Regions from separate parts of the Homo sapiens genome. Here region 2 is linked to region 1. Evidence: promoter capture Hi-C in human tissues and cell types (Jung and others, 2019). All regions are on one chromosome and are shown on one strand. Each heading gives the region's core, a stretch centred on a gene start or on the middle of the fragment in contact. The rest is flanking DNA. Distances are from core to core; before and after follow the strand shown. Region 1 holds the start of FAM83B (family with sequence similarity 83 member B). Region 2 overlaps LOC107986606 (a long non-coding RNA gene).

Evidence for each region. The method cuts DNA at HindIII sites, captures the fragments that hold promoters and counts their contacts. A contact is called where the count stands out against the background at its distance.
Region 2: a contact is called between a fragment that was not itself captured here and the fragment with the promoter of FAM83B in region 1, in 2 of the 25 tissues and cell types used here (dorsolateral prefrontal cortex and psoas muscle).

What each region holds. Positions count from the first base shown.
Region 1 is chr6:54,842,750-54,850,457 of GRCh38, reverse strand. It overlaps FAM83B (family with sequence similarity 83 member B), which reads right to left and starts at 3,687. Exons shown (of 5, transcript NM_001010872.3): 1 at 3,632-3,687. The HindIII fragment of the contact is 13,561 bases long and covers 200-7,708 here.
Region 2 is chr6:54,768,599-54,775,265 of GRCh38, reverse strand. The region is part of intron 1 of LOC107986606 (a long non-coding RNA gene); the gene reads left to right. It also overlaps the pseudogene KRASP1. Among named protein-coding and RNA genes, the nearest start is that of FAM83B, 75 kb to the left of the region's middle. The HindIII fragment of the contact is 3,241 bases long and covers 74-3,314 here.

The sequences.
Region 1 (7,708 bases), core at 2,438-4,937:
GCCAAAGAAGTGGAAATAATAAGCTTCACAGTGATACTGTGGGGAAACCTTAGTTAACATTATTTTATGATACTCTCAATAAGAAGTGATCACAGAGAATTTCAGAGCAGTGTGGGTGGGACACAGGAGTGACCACATAGTCTAAACCTTTCACAATACCAGTGAAAAACCTGCAAGCCTAAAGAATGTTAATACTTTGTCAAAAAACATGACTATCCCAGGGCTGCTAATGTTCAATTTCACAAATGATTAATGAACACAAACAACGTCTGCTGTGACCTTCAGAGAATAGGAAGGAACTACAAAAATCAGTGGACTTGATCCATTTATTTATTTGTGTACTTATAATTATCATTAGGTTCCTAAACTGGAAGCTTCCTAAGATCCAGGAATATATTTTTACTTTCCTACCCCTGGAGAGGAACATATTGCTTGGCAGATAATGGTCAATAAATATGTTTAATCAAAGGGATAGTGTAAAAGAGCACAAAGTTAGAGCCATTAGATAATCATCATCACTGCATAACTTCTCTATAAACTCTTCAACATAGGCCCCTGCCAGTAACCGGGAGACTACACCTGACTCTATGTCAGTATGCAAGAGAGGCTGACCATGACTAATTTAAGTTTCCCATGGACCAGTAATCTACAAATTATTTAAGACACAGCTGAAAAGATAAATGTCATGTGCCCTTAGGGGACTTCTCACCCCACTCTTAAGGACAATGTAAAAATAAAACAAAAGACAAACTGGGTAGTAATTAGATGTCCCCAGAGGAAAAGTTTCCTACCGTTCATGATCATGTGATTCCAGGACTTCCCAACATAGACAGCATGCCCAATGAATATCTCTCATATTTGGATCATCTCTCCACCAAGGCTCACCTTCCTTACAGCATCACAGCCCCTGAAAACATCCTTTGCCCCCTCCATCACCCACCCCTACCTTCTGTACATGTTAGCCCCCTGCCTCCTTAGTGCACCCTCCTCCCCAGCATACAGCCCACTTGCCCCCCACTCCACCTCACCTCCACGTATATCCTTTCCACTGGAGCCTACCATTTCCCCCAGCTCTTGTCTCAGGAGCCCACAGCACTCAGCCTCCCAATCCCCTTGGGAAGCCTGCTCTACCCTTAGGGGCCAGGATACTTCTAGACAGTGCCCATGCCCATTGGCACACCTCAGTGGGAAGGAAGCTCCCACTGAAGGCTCTAACACATTTTCTCAGAGAAATGTTGTTGGCTTTGATTCTTGATGGAGTTTAAGTGCTATTTGTACAACTTTTTATCTACGGCATCCTTAAAGCTGGGCTGTGAATAACCATCATTTAGAACTCTGTTTCCATGGGGGAGCGGATGTATTCTGATGTTCAGATGATAAATTCAACAACAAAATTCTAAAATACATTCCATCTCCAGATCAGAAATTAAAGGAACAAAAGCACATTTCAAAATGAACAAAACATTGTGTTTAAAAAGGTGAATTGTGAAACATCCATGGGACATTCACATTTTGCAACTTATAAAGGGACAGACGTGCAAACTTACCTAACTAGATAAACAAGGACAACTTGAAATTTTACCAATAATTCATTAAATTAAGCTAAGTGGCCTCTTTTCAAAAGGTCTCCTCCAACCAGATTTATGTATTAGAAGAGTCCCGCTTTGATGGGATAACAGTTTCACCCCAAGATTCTGGACACTTAAAAGTATAATAACATTACATTTTGGCAACTCAGTATTGTATAATGTAATTAAATGGGAAACAAGTAGGTTAGTTGCTGCAAGGTGAGTCATGGTCAAGAAAATACTCAGTGAATGAACCTCCACCTTAACCTATAAAGAACGGTGGACGGTAGAGGAAATAAAATAGAAAGATTAATAAAATTAATTACTTCATCCCAAAAAAGTTTAGCCAGTTAGCGTCATAAACTCAAGGGCATAAACGTAAAAGACATCACTGAGTCAGCACCAGAGGTGTGGTTTGTCTCCATCTATACAATCTCTTTCAGCAACTGTTCAACTGGTAATGCTTCCCACAATAAATTCTCAGCATCTGCGGTCTAAAGCCTGCCAGCTTTAAAGGCAGGATCCACCCAGCCCCTTAGGCAGGCTCTAGAGGGTGTAGCCAGCACCCTAAATAGGTGTATACCCCACGTGTGCCTGAGCCCCAAAGGCAAGGGGGTGGAATTTGCAATTGGAAGGTGTGGGGACTTCTACTTTTCTGGGAACTATAGGAAGACAGAGAGAAACAAACGCAACAAAGACCTGCACTCCCAACCTTCCATCATTCTGTTTCACATTATTCTCATTCTCCAATCATTTTGAGCCTCCCACCGCCACCCCCACCCCCACTCCAATAAAAAACAAAAAACCCCAGTTTTCTCTTCTAAGTCTCTTTCATCACTCTCTCCCTTCCTGTTGCTTGTCAGCAATGATTCAGCCTCAGTCATGGATTTCCTCGGGGCTCTTGCACTTGTTAGGATGAGAAAGGGAAAGAAGGGAGGTGCCTGCCAGTAACCTAGCAAGATGTTTGTAACTGGGAATTTGGACATAAGCTGTTGAGCATTAAATTCTAGCCTCAATTGCTTGCCACCCGCACACCTTCTTCTTAAGTGTTCTGGCCGCCTGAGCTCTCATTTCCACTTCTAGGTCAGAGAGACCCTATAACTTCACCGCTCCGAGCATAGACAACATGCTAACCTGTGTTTCCATAACCTCCCAGCCTCCTCCTATAAAGAAAGCGCTGTTGTCTCTTTACATACCTATGACTCCTGCAATGAACACAGGCATTCTCTGCCTGTCCATTAACCTTACACAGGTAAGTCTCCCCACATATCACACAGAATAGGCCAAAAGTCTCCAAGTCCCGTTCCAGGAGCAATCTGCTCTAGGCCTACTCTCCTCTTCTAGATCACTCACCAGGATCTAGAGCAGTGGTTCTCAAACTTTGGTAGGTACAGGCTCTCCTGGAGAGCTGCTAGGGCACACAGACCCAGACTCAGGCCGACCCAAGTATGAAAAACACAGGTCGCTACCAGTCTGCACTCAGAAACGGGATCCTGTACAATTAAGAGGTTGTGTGAAAAAACTGTCTTTTCAAGTTCTGCTCCCCACTCAGGATCTAAAGAACACCCACGCCCCTCAGCGACCTAAGCTCTCCCACCTTTTCCCGGAACCCCCCACCCCCATGCCCTCTGCTTCCACCCTGGACTTCCTCCCACGAGACTTTTCCCAGCGGTCTCTCCTCCCGCTTCCCCTCCCGGGGTCCTCGGCGCACTCCTACACTGGAAAAGAGGAAACAAATGCAGCCTCCACGAGGGGCGGCGCCAGTCCTCTGGGGACCCAAACCGACTCCGCCCGAGACAACTTTTCAAACTTCTCAACTCACTCGAACCCCCACGACAATGAAAGAAACGTAGAAAAGACTGAAGCAACTGAGCTTTACACCCTGTGGAATTTCCAATCCCGCCTGCGCTCCCAAGGGAGAGTCCCCTATCCCTCCCGTCCGCCGCGCCGGCCAGGGGCGGGTGAAGCCCCGGGCCCCCCCAGTACCCCAAGCACCTCAACCCTGCACCCGCTGGGGTCCCGTCCGCCGAGGTCCGGGGCAAGGGAGCCCAAACCCCACTTACTTGCCCCAAGCCGCGCGCAACCGCGCCCGCCGCACAGCGCCGGCCGCCGAAGGTTTGCCTCCCAGGAAGCAGCAAGCGCCTGGGCGCGGGCAGGGAGGGGAGGGGAGTTACCTGCCCAGCGTCAGGTCCGCGGAGGGAGGCTGATTCCGGCTCGAACCGCGCCTCCCCGAGACAAGGTGCAGCGCTGGAGGGGGCGGGAGTGGAGACGGGTTACAACAAGTCCCAAGTGGTGGCACGCCAAACCCCGAACAGCCAGAAAGCGCTCGGAACCTGTCTGAACTCAAACACCCTGCTCTCTCCCAGCGGAGTATGAAAAAGCCTTTCTTTCCTGCCCGCCCTCGGGGCTACGGGGCAATTACAAGTCCCGACACCCTGCTCCTGGTCTGGGGCGAGGAGCGATCCCGGAGGACAGCGACGCTCACCTGGGAAGAAGGCGGATCTAGGCCGAGCGGGGCCGTGGTCCCGTCCTCGCTTTTCCCTGGGCTCAAGAATGCCTGGAGGAGAGGCCTGGGGGCCGCGGGTGAGAGCAAGGGTTGTAGCACCTTCGAGAGTGTGGGGCGGATTCAGCCCACAGTAGGTAATTCCAGTGGGCATCCCGCAGTGCAGACTCCTTCTCAGTGCCTAAGAGTCTTTAGGCTTGGAGAGGACGTGGGGAGTGGAAAAGTAGAAGAAAAAGTGCTTGTGCCTTTACTTTTTTATGTAAAAGAATTTCAAATATCATCAAAGATTTTGGTACTGACTCTCAACTGTCCTAGTTACAGATTTGGGATGAAAGGATATTGTTTAAAATAGGGAGATGTGCGTGAAAGCAGGTCCCTCTAGGTGGGATACTGCGGAGCAATGTTACGGAAGTGGAGACACTATAATTTAAACATAAAATACAGTAATTAATAAAATTTATTTTTTAATTTCCTTGCCTACACCTCAGTAAATCTGTCATGAGTATTTATAATAATTTGTGTAATCACGTAGACTTCAAGATAAAGTCATTTGCAGCAAATGTCTAAAATGCAGCCTAGTACTGTAAGAATGGAATTTAGGGTAGTAATAGGCATATTTTAAGCGTCTGGCATAATATATAAATTATCATAAAATTGAATTGACCCTTAAAAATGACTTTCGTGGCGATTTTGCTCCAAATAAAACAGTTGAGGAAAATGCTAAGCCATTAAGGTTTGGATGAATCCCTGACTGACGTGCTGATTTAAACTGAAGAATGAAATTCGCATTAGTCTAGATACTGAAACATCAGAGCAAAGGCCAAAGACAGGAAAGTAAAAGCAAATTCCAGGATTAGTACAAAGCTAATCTTCCAGATCTTGGTGTCTGGTTTGTAGTTTCATTTCTTCAAAAGAATGTAGAGAATTGTCTTGTTTTATGTATTTATTTTTTCCTTCTGTTCCTAATTTTCACATCTCACTTTTTAATATTTTTTCAGTTCTCTTCCTCATTTTTGGCATGCAATCCATTGACTAAATTAATATTCTCTATGTGGTACTTAATATACTGGCGTGTTTCTACAGCCTTTGAGAATAATTCTGAATGTCTCTTAAAGGTGCAATACTTATGAACGTTTTGAGATGCACTTATCCTATTGTTAAAAATATCAAGAATATTTGGAGTTAAATGAGGCCCATAGGAAGTCTAATTTTATTAAGATATGCACTCATGCTAAGTCAAGTGAAATCACAAAGAAAGAAGGATATATCTACTCGAGTGTTCATTATTAAAAGCAAACAAAAGATCAGAAAATAGACGTGGAGAGGGAGAATCTATTAAAGGTATTATGCTATGTAAGACCTTTCCATCCTTAATGGGATGGAAAAATAGATAAAATTGATCTCACCCCTTAAGGAGCCTAGAAGGTGGGTGAGGAATGTGGACAGAATTTCACAGAACTATTAGAATTTGAGTTGGGTCCCGACTGATGAGCAAACTTGTCAGGAGAATGAAATTGACATGTGATTAGATGCTGAAAGAGCAGAGTAAAGGCTAAAAGCAAGTTCCAGAACCACGCAAATCAATTACCTGATTTGGCCATGGGCATCACATGGTTGTGAGTGGTGGAAGATACATTTAGACATAAAGTTTGGAGTAATTTTCTCACAGAATGAGATCAAAATTATTTATAATCTAAGATTGTTGTGAGAATTATAAATTAGATATGGTATGTGGAAAACATCCCAGCTCTTGATCTGTGGTAAGCCCGTAAGTGCATTACTATTAATTATACTGGGAATCAGATTGGGAAGAACTCTGATTGCAAGCTGAAAAATATGGACTTGTGTCTCTTGCTGGTGATATGTTGACTAATCTAACAGTTGGTGACTTTGGTATAAATTCTAGGGAGTCAGGAAGAGTAGTTATGCCTAGCTGTCATGTGAATAGTATGACAAGGGAAGGAATAGTGAAAATGAAAAGGAGGAAACCGATTTGAGAGCCAATGAAATAGAAAATCAATATGATTTGCATCAGATAGAATGGATGTAGAATTGAAAGTGAAAGAAATAACTAGGTTTTCTTTTCTTTCTTTCCTTTTTTTGAAACAGGATCTTGCTCTGCCCCCTAGGCTGGAGTGTAGTGTCTCAACTCACTGCAACATCCAACTTTTCAGCTCAAGCAACTCTCCCACCTCAGCCTCCCTAGTAGCTGGGATTACAGGTGCATACCACCAAACCCAGCTAATTTTTGTATTTTTTTTAATAGAGACAGGGTTTCACCATGTTGCCCAAGTTATAACCTAAGTGTTTTCAAGCTGCCAAAAGTCATCAGTAGAGGGAAAGAAAGAAATAAAATGGCCATGTATGTGAAAAGTAGGAAGAGGCAGGAGCAGGATCATGTGAAAGGTTGTTTTCAAGTTGTTGGGAATCTTTCTGTAAATGTGTTGGAAAGGAAATAGCAGAGAATAGAAAGAATAATGGGTAATGAACAAGGTCCAGATGATATGGGAAGGGAGATATAAAACCTCAGTCTCTCCATATGATAAGTATGCCTAATAAATTCTCAACTGTATTATTTTTTAAATGGATAGGTTATATTTAAGACAGAAACTAAAACTAGACTTTTACAGTTAATACTTTAAAAGTAGCTAACAGGATGGATGGGAAGATTACACTAATGGCTCACACCTGTAATCCCAGCACTTTGGGAGGCCGTGGCAGGATCACGAGGTCAGGTGATTGAGACCATCCTGGCTAATATAGTGAAACCTCATCTGTACTAAAAATACAAAAATTAGCTGGGTGTGGTGGTGCACACCTGTAATCCCAGCTACTTGGGGGGCTGAGGCAAGAGAATCACTTGAACCCGGGAGGTGGAGATTGCAGTGAGCTCAGACCGTGCCACTGCACTCCAGCCTGGAGACAGAGCGAGATTCCGTCTTTAAGAAAAAAAAAAAAAAAAAAGGCTTTTAAAAACTACAAGTCAACTCAATCTTCATTTGCATCTTTACCCTCATTCTATAATATTTAATCTAAAGTCTAAACAAATCAGTGGAAATACGAAGTTACACTTAACAGGCATGTATTTGCCTCCCATATTGAGTTCAAATATACAAGGGGGTTCAAAAGCAATCAGGTATTTTTTCCTGCCCTCAAAGTACTTATAATTCTTTTTTTTTTTTTTTTTTTTTTGTTGAGGGGGAGTCTCACTGTTGCCCAGGTTGGAGTGCAGTGGCACGGTCTCAGCTCACTGCAACCTCCGCCTCCCGGGTTCAAGTGATTCTTCTGCCTCAGCCTCCTGAGTAGCTGGGACTACAGGCATGCACCACCACGCCTGGCTAATTTTTATATTTTTAGTAGCGACAGGATTTCACCATATTGGCTCGGATGGTCTCAAACTCCTGACCTTGTGATCCACCCGCCTCAGCCTCCCAAAGTGCTTGGATTACAGGTATGAGCCACCATGCCCGGCCAGTACTTACAATTTAATTGATAAGATAAAATATATGTGAAGTACAATAATCCAGAAAATAATATATATACACATAAATATAGATAACAATGAAACAGACAGGAGTTATAGAAGAGAAGAAGCAACTAATTTTATTGGGAAAGAAGGAAATCATACTCTGAATGA
Region 2 (6,667 bases), core at 445-2,944, 73 kb after region 1:
TTTCTGCAGATAACTTTTTTCCCCCTAAATTCATCTAAATTACCTATCATTATCCCAAACAGGCACTTCAAACTATTAAACTAAAACACAAATCTTAGTCTAGTTATGACTATTCTTCAAGAACTCATGTGAGTATCTTTAGAAAGAAATTTTCATTTTTGACAGACAGCTATCAGTAGTATGCTGTTCAATTGCTCAACGCAGAATTCATGCTATCCAGTATTAACACAGAAGTTATTAAATATAAATTCAGCCTTAAAGTAACTGCTTTGTTCTAAAAAAAATTACTACATAATTATCAAGATATCATGACTTTTTAACAAATGGAAATCTTCAGATAGTTTTTGTGTCTAAAGAAATATCCCCTAAATGTATATACACTGAAGAAATAATGGTTGGATTAAAAAAAAAATCACTGGAATACAAATGAGATGAACTTGTGCAAACTGTAACTTAACATGCCCCACAAAGTTTCCATATATATATTAGGACAAAATTATGCAATGGTGGCAACAGTTTTGATAACCTATAAAAGTTAGGTTCTAAATTCCTAGGCAGTGTGACTCAGTTAAAATAGAGCCTAGAATGCCTAAGTGGAAATATTCACTCAAATCATACAATATATGTCTGCTCTATTCTTCCACAAACATGTTAATGCCTAAGACTATGTAATTTAGCACTTTTTGGAAAAACTTCAACAAGGATTTTTATCTTTAAGGCTGTAATAATTAGATAACATTTCTTTCTAGAATTCTCCCACTTTAAAAATCGCTACAATAACAAACCTTTTGTTAAACCATTCAAAGTTCACATAATAAAAGGTAATTATCATTACCTTAAAAAATGTCCATCTACATAAAAAATTCAAGAGGCCTAAATATCCCCTCATAAGCTCTGCAGTTCCTGAAGTATAACCATTTCTTTCTCTGTGTAGAAACAAGAGGTACTGTATAACACCCTACCTAAACAATGTTCCACAGATCTGTAGTTTAGCATAGTATTTCAGAAATCATACTGATTTTTACATAGAAGTTTCATTGTCTATGAACTAGTTCAGGCGCCTGTTTATTTGCATCCAGATAAAACTATTTTAGAAGTAAATATTTAATTTTTAAGTCTATTTTAATTACTTATGCAGAGAAAACTGGAATACTACACATTTGGGAATTTTGTGAGTATCTGACATATACCTTAATGGGTACAGTAATTGGCCCAACAGAATCATATAGTTATGCCAAATAAAACACAATATAATCAAGTTTATTCCTTTAAAATAATGAAGTGATTTACATAAAGTAGCTAGATCAAAGAGTTGCACTGGAATCACAGCAAAACAATTATAGAACTGGAAGAAACCTTAGAGACCAAACCCCTTCTTTGCAAAACTAAAATACACGTTGTGTTATCTCTGGGTCATATGCCGAAGGCCTTACTAAGATATTACAGACCATGCTAGCACTACCTAAGGACTGGGATTATGCCTCTTGTTTGGGGATACCATATACCCAGTGCCTTAGGCAGTGACTGGCATCTGGTAGGCACTCAGTATATATTTACTGAGTAAATGAGTTCTGCAAAACAGTAAGCTTTATGGGGCCGAGGCGGGCGAATCACTTGAGGTCAGGAATTTGAGACCAGCCTGGCCAATAGGGTGAAACCCTGTCTCTACTAAAAATACAAAAATTAGCTGAGCATGGTGGCACACGCCTGTAATCCCAGCTACTCGGGAGGCTGAGGCATGAGAATCGCTTGAACCTGGGAGATGGAGGTTACAGTGAGACAGTAAGACAAGATGGCGCCACTGCATTCCAGCCTGGGTGACAGAGTGAGACTCTGACCCCGCCTAAAAACAAACAAACAAACAAAACCAGTAAGCTTTATGAATTAAAGTATTTTTCATTGTAAGAAGATTTCTGGTTATTAAAACATTGGAATGTATTACTGTTACCAGGGGTAGTCCTAATTGTAGATTACCTAAGAAATTCTTTCAGCAGTATCGTTATTAAAATCTCCTTCCACTGGATAGGGTTCTGTCTGTTCATACCAGGTTTGAAAATTCCTACTATCACTAATGAATTGGGCAGCAAAGAGGTGTTCAAAGAATCAGCCACCACCTGAAAATTAGCTATTAGGTCAAATCCCATTATGATATCTGTCAGATTCTTTTGAGACCTGAGGAAATAAGATGTAAGGGATTTTGATGTGACTTAATGGGAAACCTTCATGGAGATATCCACAGCAGCAGTAAATCTTATGGTTAGGGGAATTAGAAGTATTAAAATTACATCAAATCATGGGGCATGTGGAAGGCAGGCAGGCAAGATGACACTAATACAGAAGGAGAGTCCTAAAACGAGAATGGATATTCAAATATAAACTTTACCTCTTGCACAATTTTGCCCAAGATTGTCACTGTCACTGAAGATGGTAACATAGGTTAAAAAGTTACAGATTGTGCTGAGCTTGACAAATAAGTGTATCCTATGTAAACGGAATATAAATTATATAGTTGTAAAAAAGCAATGAGTTTGAGATGACTTCTTTTAACATGAAGAAATGGATAGTAAGTGATTTCCTCAAAATCAGAGTCCTAAAAGACACATATCTAGAACCTAAGTCACCTTCCTTCTAGTCCAGTGATATTTTCACCTCACCACACCATCTCACTTCATATATTTTAAAATAAGTAACATTTTAAGTGTATTAATAGGATTATTTTATTAATATTTATTTTTAAAGCATTAATCTTAAATATGCATCAGACTTGAAAAGTGTTTATGAAATGTTAATTTAACCCGTGTTAAGAGAACTAGCCAAACCTAGAGATTTTAAAGCTTTTTCACTTCATTGTTTAAAAAAATTAATGTCTTTGCACACCACCACCCCAAAATCTCAACTTTTGAGTTAATATTTAAAAGTAATTTTTAAAAAAGATTTTGTTTTCTTAAAAACAAAAGCGATGCTCTTGATTTGTCAGCAGGACTGCCACAGAGTGAGAATGTATTTGTTGAGCTTTCCAAACTGTCCTAATCCCTCCCCATTTTGACCAACCAATGCATGACAACGCTGGATGACCATGGGGACACAGTCCATGCTGTGAAACTCTCTATGAAAGCTCAAAGGTTCACACAGGGCCTGGCCTTGCAAACTTGGTCTCTTCAACACTTACTAAGCTATGACTGGCCCAAATAATCTTTAATAACACAAGCAGAATTAAAACTATCTTCAAAGACTGAAGTTGAATAAAAGATTTAAAGTTATACTACGAAAGAGAAATCTGACACAGGGAGACTACATTTAATTCCTGTGAGAATGTTTTATACCTGTTAAAATTCTTTCAATTATTATAAAAATTTAGTACCATGTAAATATAGCCCGAAAATGGTTGCTATAATTCCCATTTCATACTGGGTCTCCCTTAACCGAAAAAACTATTAGGAGTTCTTATAATAATTTATCTAATGTGAAAAGGAAATGGCCTTATAATAGTTTCCATTGCCTTGTAATTTTTTTCCATTTTTTTATAGAAAAAATATAATATTTTTGAGAGAGTGACCGTGACTAGTAGCAGTGGAAAGTGGGGCAAAACCTTTGTGAACAGTGTAACTTTACATTCACCGGGGATGACAAACTACAGGACATGATGCCTAGAAGAAGAATCATCAGAAATCCCATAAATTTGTGTTCCCTCAATGTTTCAGTAAAACCAATTATAAAGCCTCAACTGAAATTATAATTAGTAATTAATCCATTTATGTGACTAGATAAAACACAGAATAGGGATGATTCACAAGCTTCATTAATTTGTTTCTCACCGATGTTCACAACTGGTAAGAAAAATAAGAAGTAATCAACTGCATGCACCAAAAACCCCAAGACAGAAATCAAAGGTATTCAGTTTCTTTTTCACAGGCATTGCTAGTTTGAAAACCAAAACTCTGGTAATACTGGCACTTAGGGGAAAAAAGTTTGCACTGTCATTTTAAAATAAGCATTTAAGGTAAAAGCTAACAGTTTGCATGGAGCAGGAAAAAAATTAGGTAATGCTAAAACAATGCTAATAGTTTAGTGTAATGTATAAAAATTACCAGTTTTACTTAAGTATGCCTTAAGAAAAAAGTACTAATTGTATTTACATAATTACACACTTTGTCATTGACTTTTCTTCTTCTTACCATCTTTGCTCATCTTTTATTTCTCAAACTAATGTATAGAAGGCATCATTAACACCCTGTCTTTGCTGGTTTCAATAAAGGGAATTCCCTAACTCCTTGCTAAGTCCTGAGCCTTTTGTGTCTACTGTTCTAGAAGGCAAATCACATTTATTTCCTACTAGGACCATAGGCACATCTTCAGAGTCCTTAAATCTTTTAATTTGTTTTCTATAATTGTGCATATCTTCAAATGATTTAATATTATTTATGGCAAATACACAAAGAAAGCCCCCCCCCCCCCCCCGCCCAGTCCTCATGTACTGGTCCTCATTGCATTGTACTCTTCTTGACCTGTTGTGTCAAGAATATCCAAGAGACAGGTTTCTCCATCAATTACTACTTGCTTCCTGTAGGAATTCTCTATTGTTGGATCATATTGGTCCACAAAATGATTCTGAATTAGCTGTATCGTCAAGACACTTTTGCTTACGCCACCAGCTCCAACTACCGCAAGTTTATATTCAGTCATTTTCAGCAGGTCTGGGAGCCGCTGAGCCTCTGGCCCTGCCGCCGCCTTCAGTGCCTGCGCCACGGAGCTCCCAGTCCGAAATGGCGGAGGCCGGGAGTACTGGCCCAGCTTCATCTAAACCAGTATTTGTCTTATATACTTTACGTGAATATGCTTATTCTCAAGGTAAGGCAGTCAAAGCTCATTCCATTCCTTAGGAATTTATGATGCAGGATAATGTCAAACACTAAAGATTCATTTTATTTCAAAGAACCAGCAAATTTCAGTAGATCTTAATGTTACACAATGCACTAAATAGTAGACCATGCTTCTCCCTGGAGTCATTGTTTTCTAAATTGCAATGTAGTACCTAAAAAGCATTGCAAATAAGAATGACATTGTGAATCTTATTGAAAGTTTTAGGTCAGTTTTGTCATAATGCATTCTTCATCATCTGTCAGGTTGTTGGCATGTGAAAGGTCTCCAGAGGAAAAAGAATATGCTGCTAGAAATAGTCTCCAGTTTTCTCTTCAAATAACAACTTGGGTCAAAATCATCCTTACTAGGTCACTGTTAAACAATATTTCTGATATGTTTGACATGTTACTGTGCATTACATCAAATCAAATTTTGATCATGCTTTATAAAATTCCTGACATGTCTAATGCTATTGTATTCTCGTAGTGAGTATTTAAATGTGGCAATAAATAATGTCCCGGACCTATTTCTAATAATTTTAGTTTGCTTTAAATCTTTATCTGCTAAAATTTTTTCTCTAGATCTTGAAATTACTCCACAATTTACTAGTGACTATGATAAGTCACTTAAATACCTCATCTTTTTTATTTATTTATTTATTATGTTTTTTGAGATGGAGTCTCACTCTGTCGCCCAGGCTGGAGTGCAGTGGCGCGATCTCGGCTCATGGCAACATTCGCCTCCCAGGTTCAAGCAATTCTCCTGCCTTAGCCTTCCAAGTAGCTGGGATTACAGGAGCCCCCTGCCACGTCCGGCTAATTTTTGTATTTTTAGTAGAGGCAGGGTTTCACCATGTTGGCCAGGCTGGTCTCAACTCCTGATCTCAAATGTTCCACCCACCGTGGCCTCCCAAAGTGCTGGGATTACAGGCATGAGCCACCATGCCCGGCCAACAGCTTCCTCATCTTTAAAATGAGATACAGTAGTACCTGTATTATAGGGTTATTATGAGGATTAATTTAGTAAGTGTAAGGGTTTATGACAGTATTATTGTTGAAATATGAGGTCAAAATAAATTTGTTTCCCTGAGTAGGATGAAATGCTCCTTTAAGAGGAATCATTTAAATTTCTTACATACTTTTATTTGCACATTGCAGCAAAATACGTGCATGTTAAACTACCAGCATAACTTAATTCATGAACGCATGTATATACCTGAGGATCTTCATGGCCCCAGGAACACATTAAACTTTTCTGATACAATTTTTCTTTACTTAGAGTTTGTTTTCTTCTTCACATATTGCTTTTCATTTGTTTACATTGTACTTTCATCTATATAATATGCATTAAAAATGTAAAGATGTTTGCTTTTTCAAGTAGTCAAGTTCAACAAAGTTTTTATCATATGAAAAATTAATAGGTAAGCACTCAAACATTGATGAATAAAGATACTAAACAACAGTAGCTATAGGCAGATCACCCACCCACTACCCTCTGTTTCCAAACAGAAATAATCAACCCTTCCTCTAATTTCATGTTCTTTCTCTCAGTGGTGGAGTGTTCTAGATTGTATCAGTCTAGCTTGTTATTTTGATTTCCATCTGGAACTGGATCAGTCCTTACTCAAGCCCAGATAGATGACATCATAGAAATAAATTGTATTAGTCTGACATAATTGTTCTCTATGCAATCTTCACATTTATGGGGGAAAAGGTTAGTTTTCATTAGTGTACTAATCCAAGGCTTGCTCTCTTCCTCTATTGTAAAAAGCAGTAAATTGATACACTGTTAGTGATAGCTGTCATAT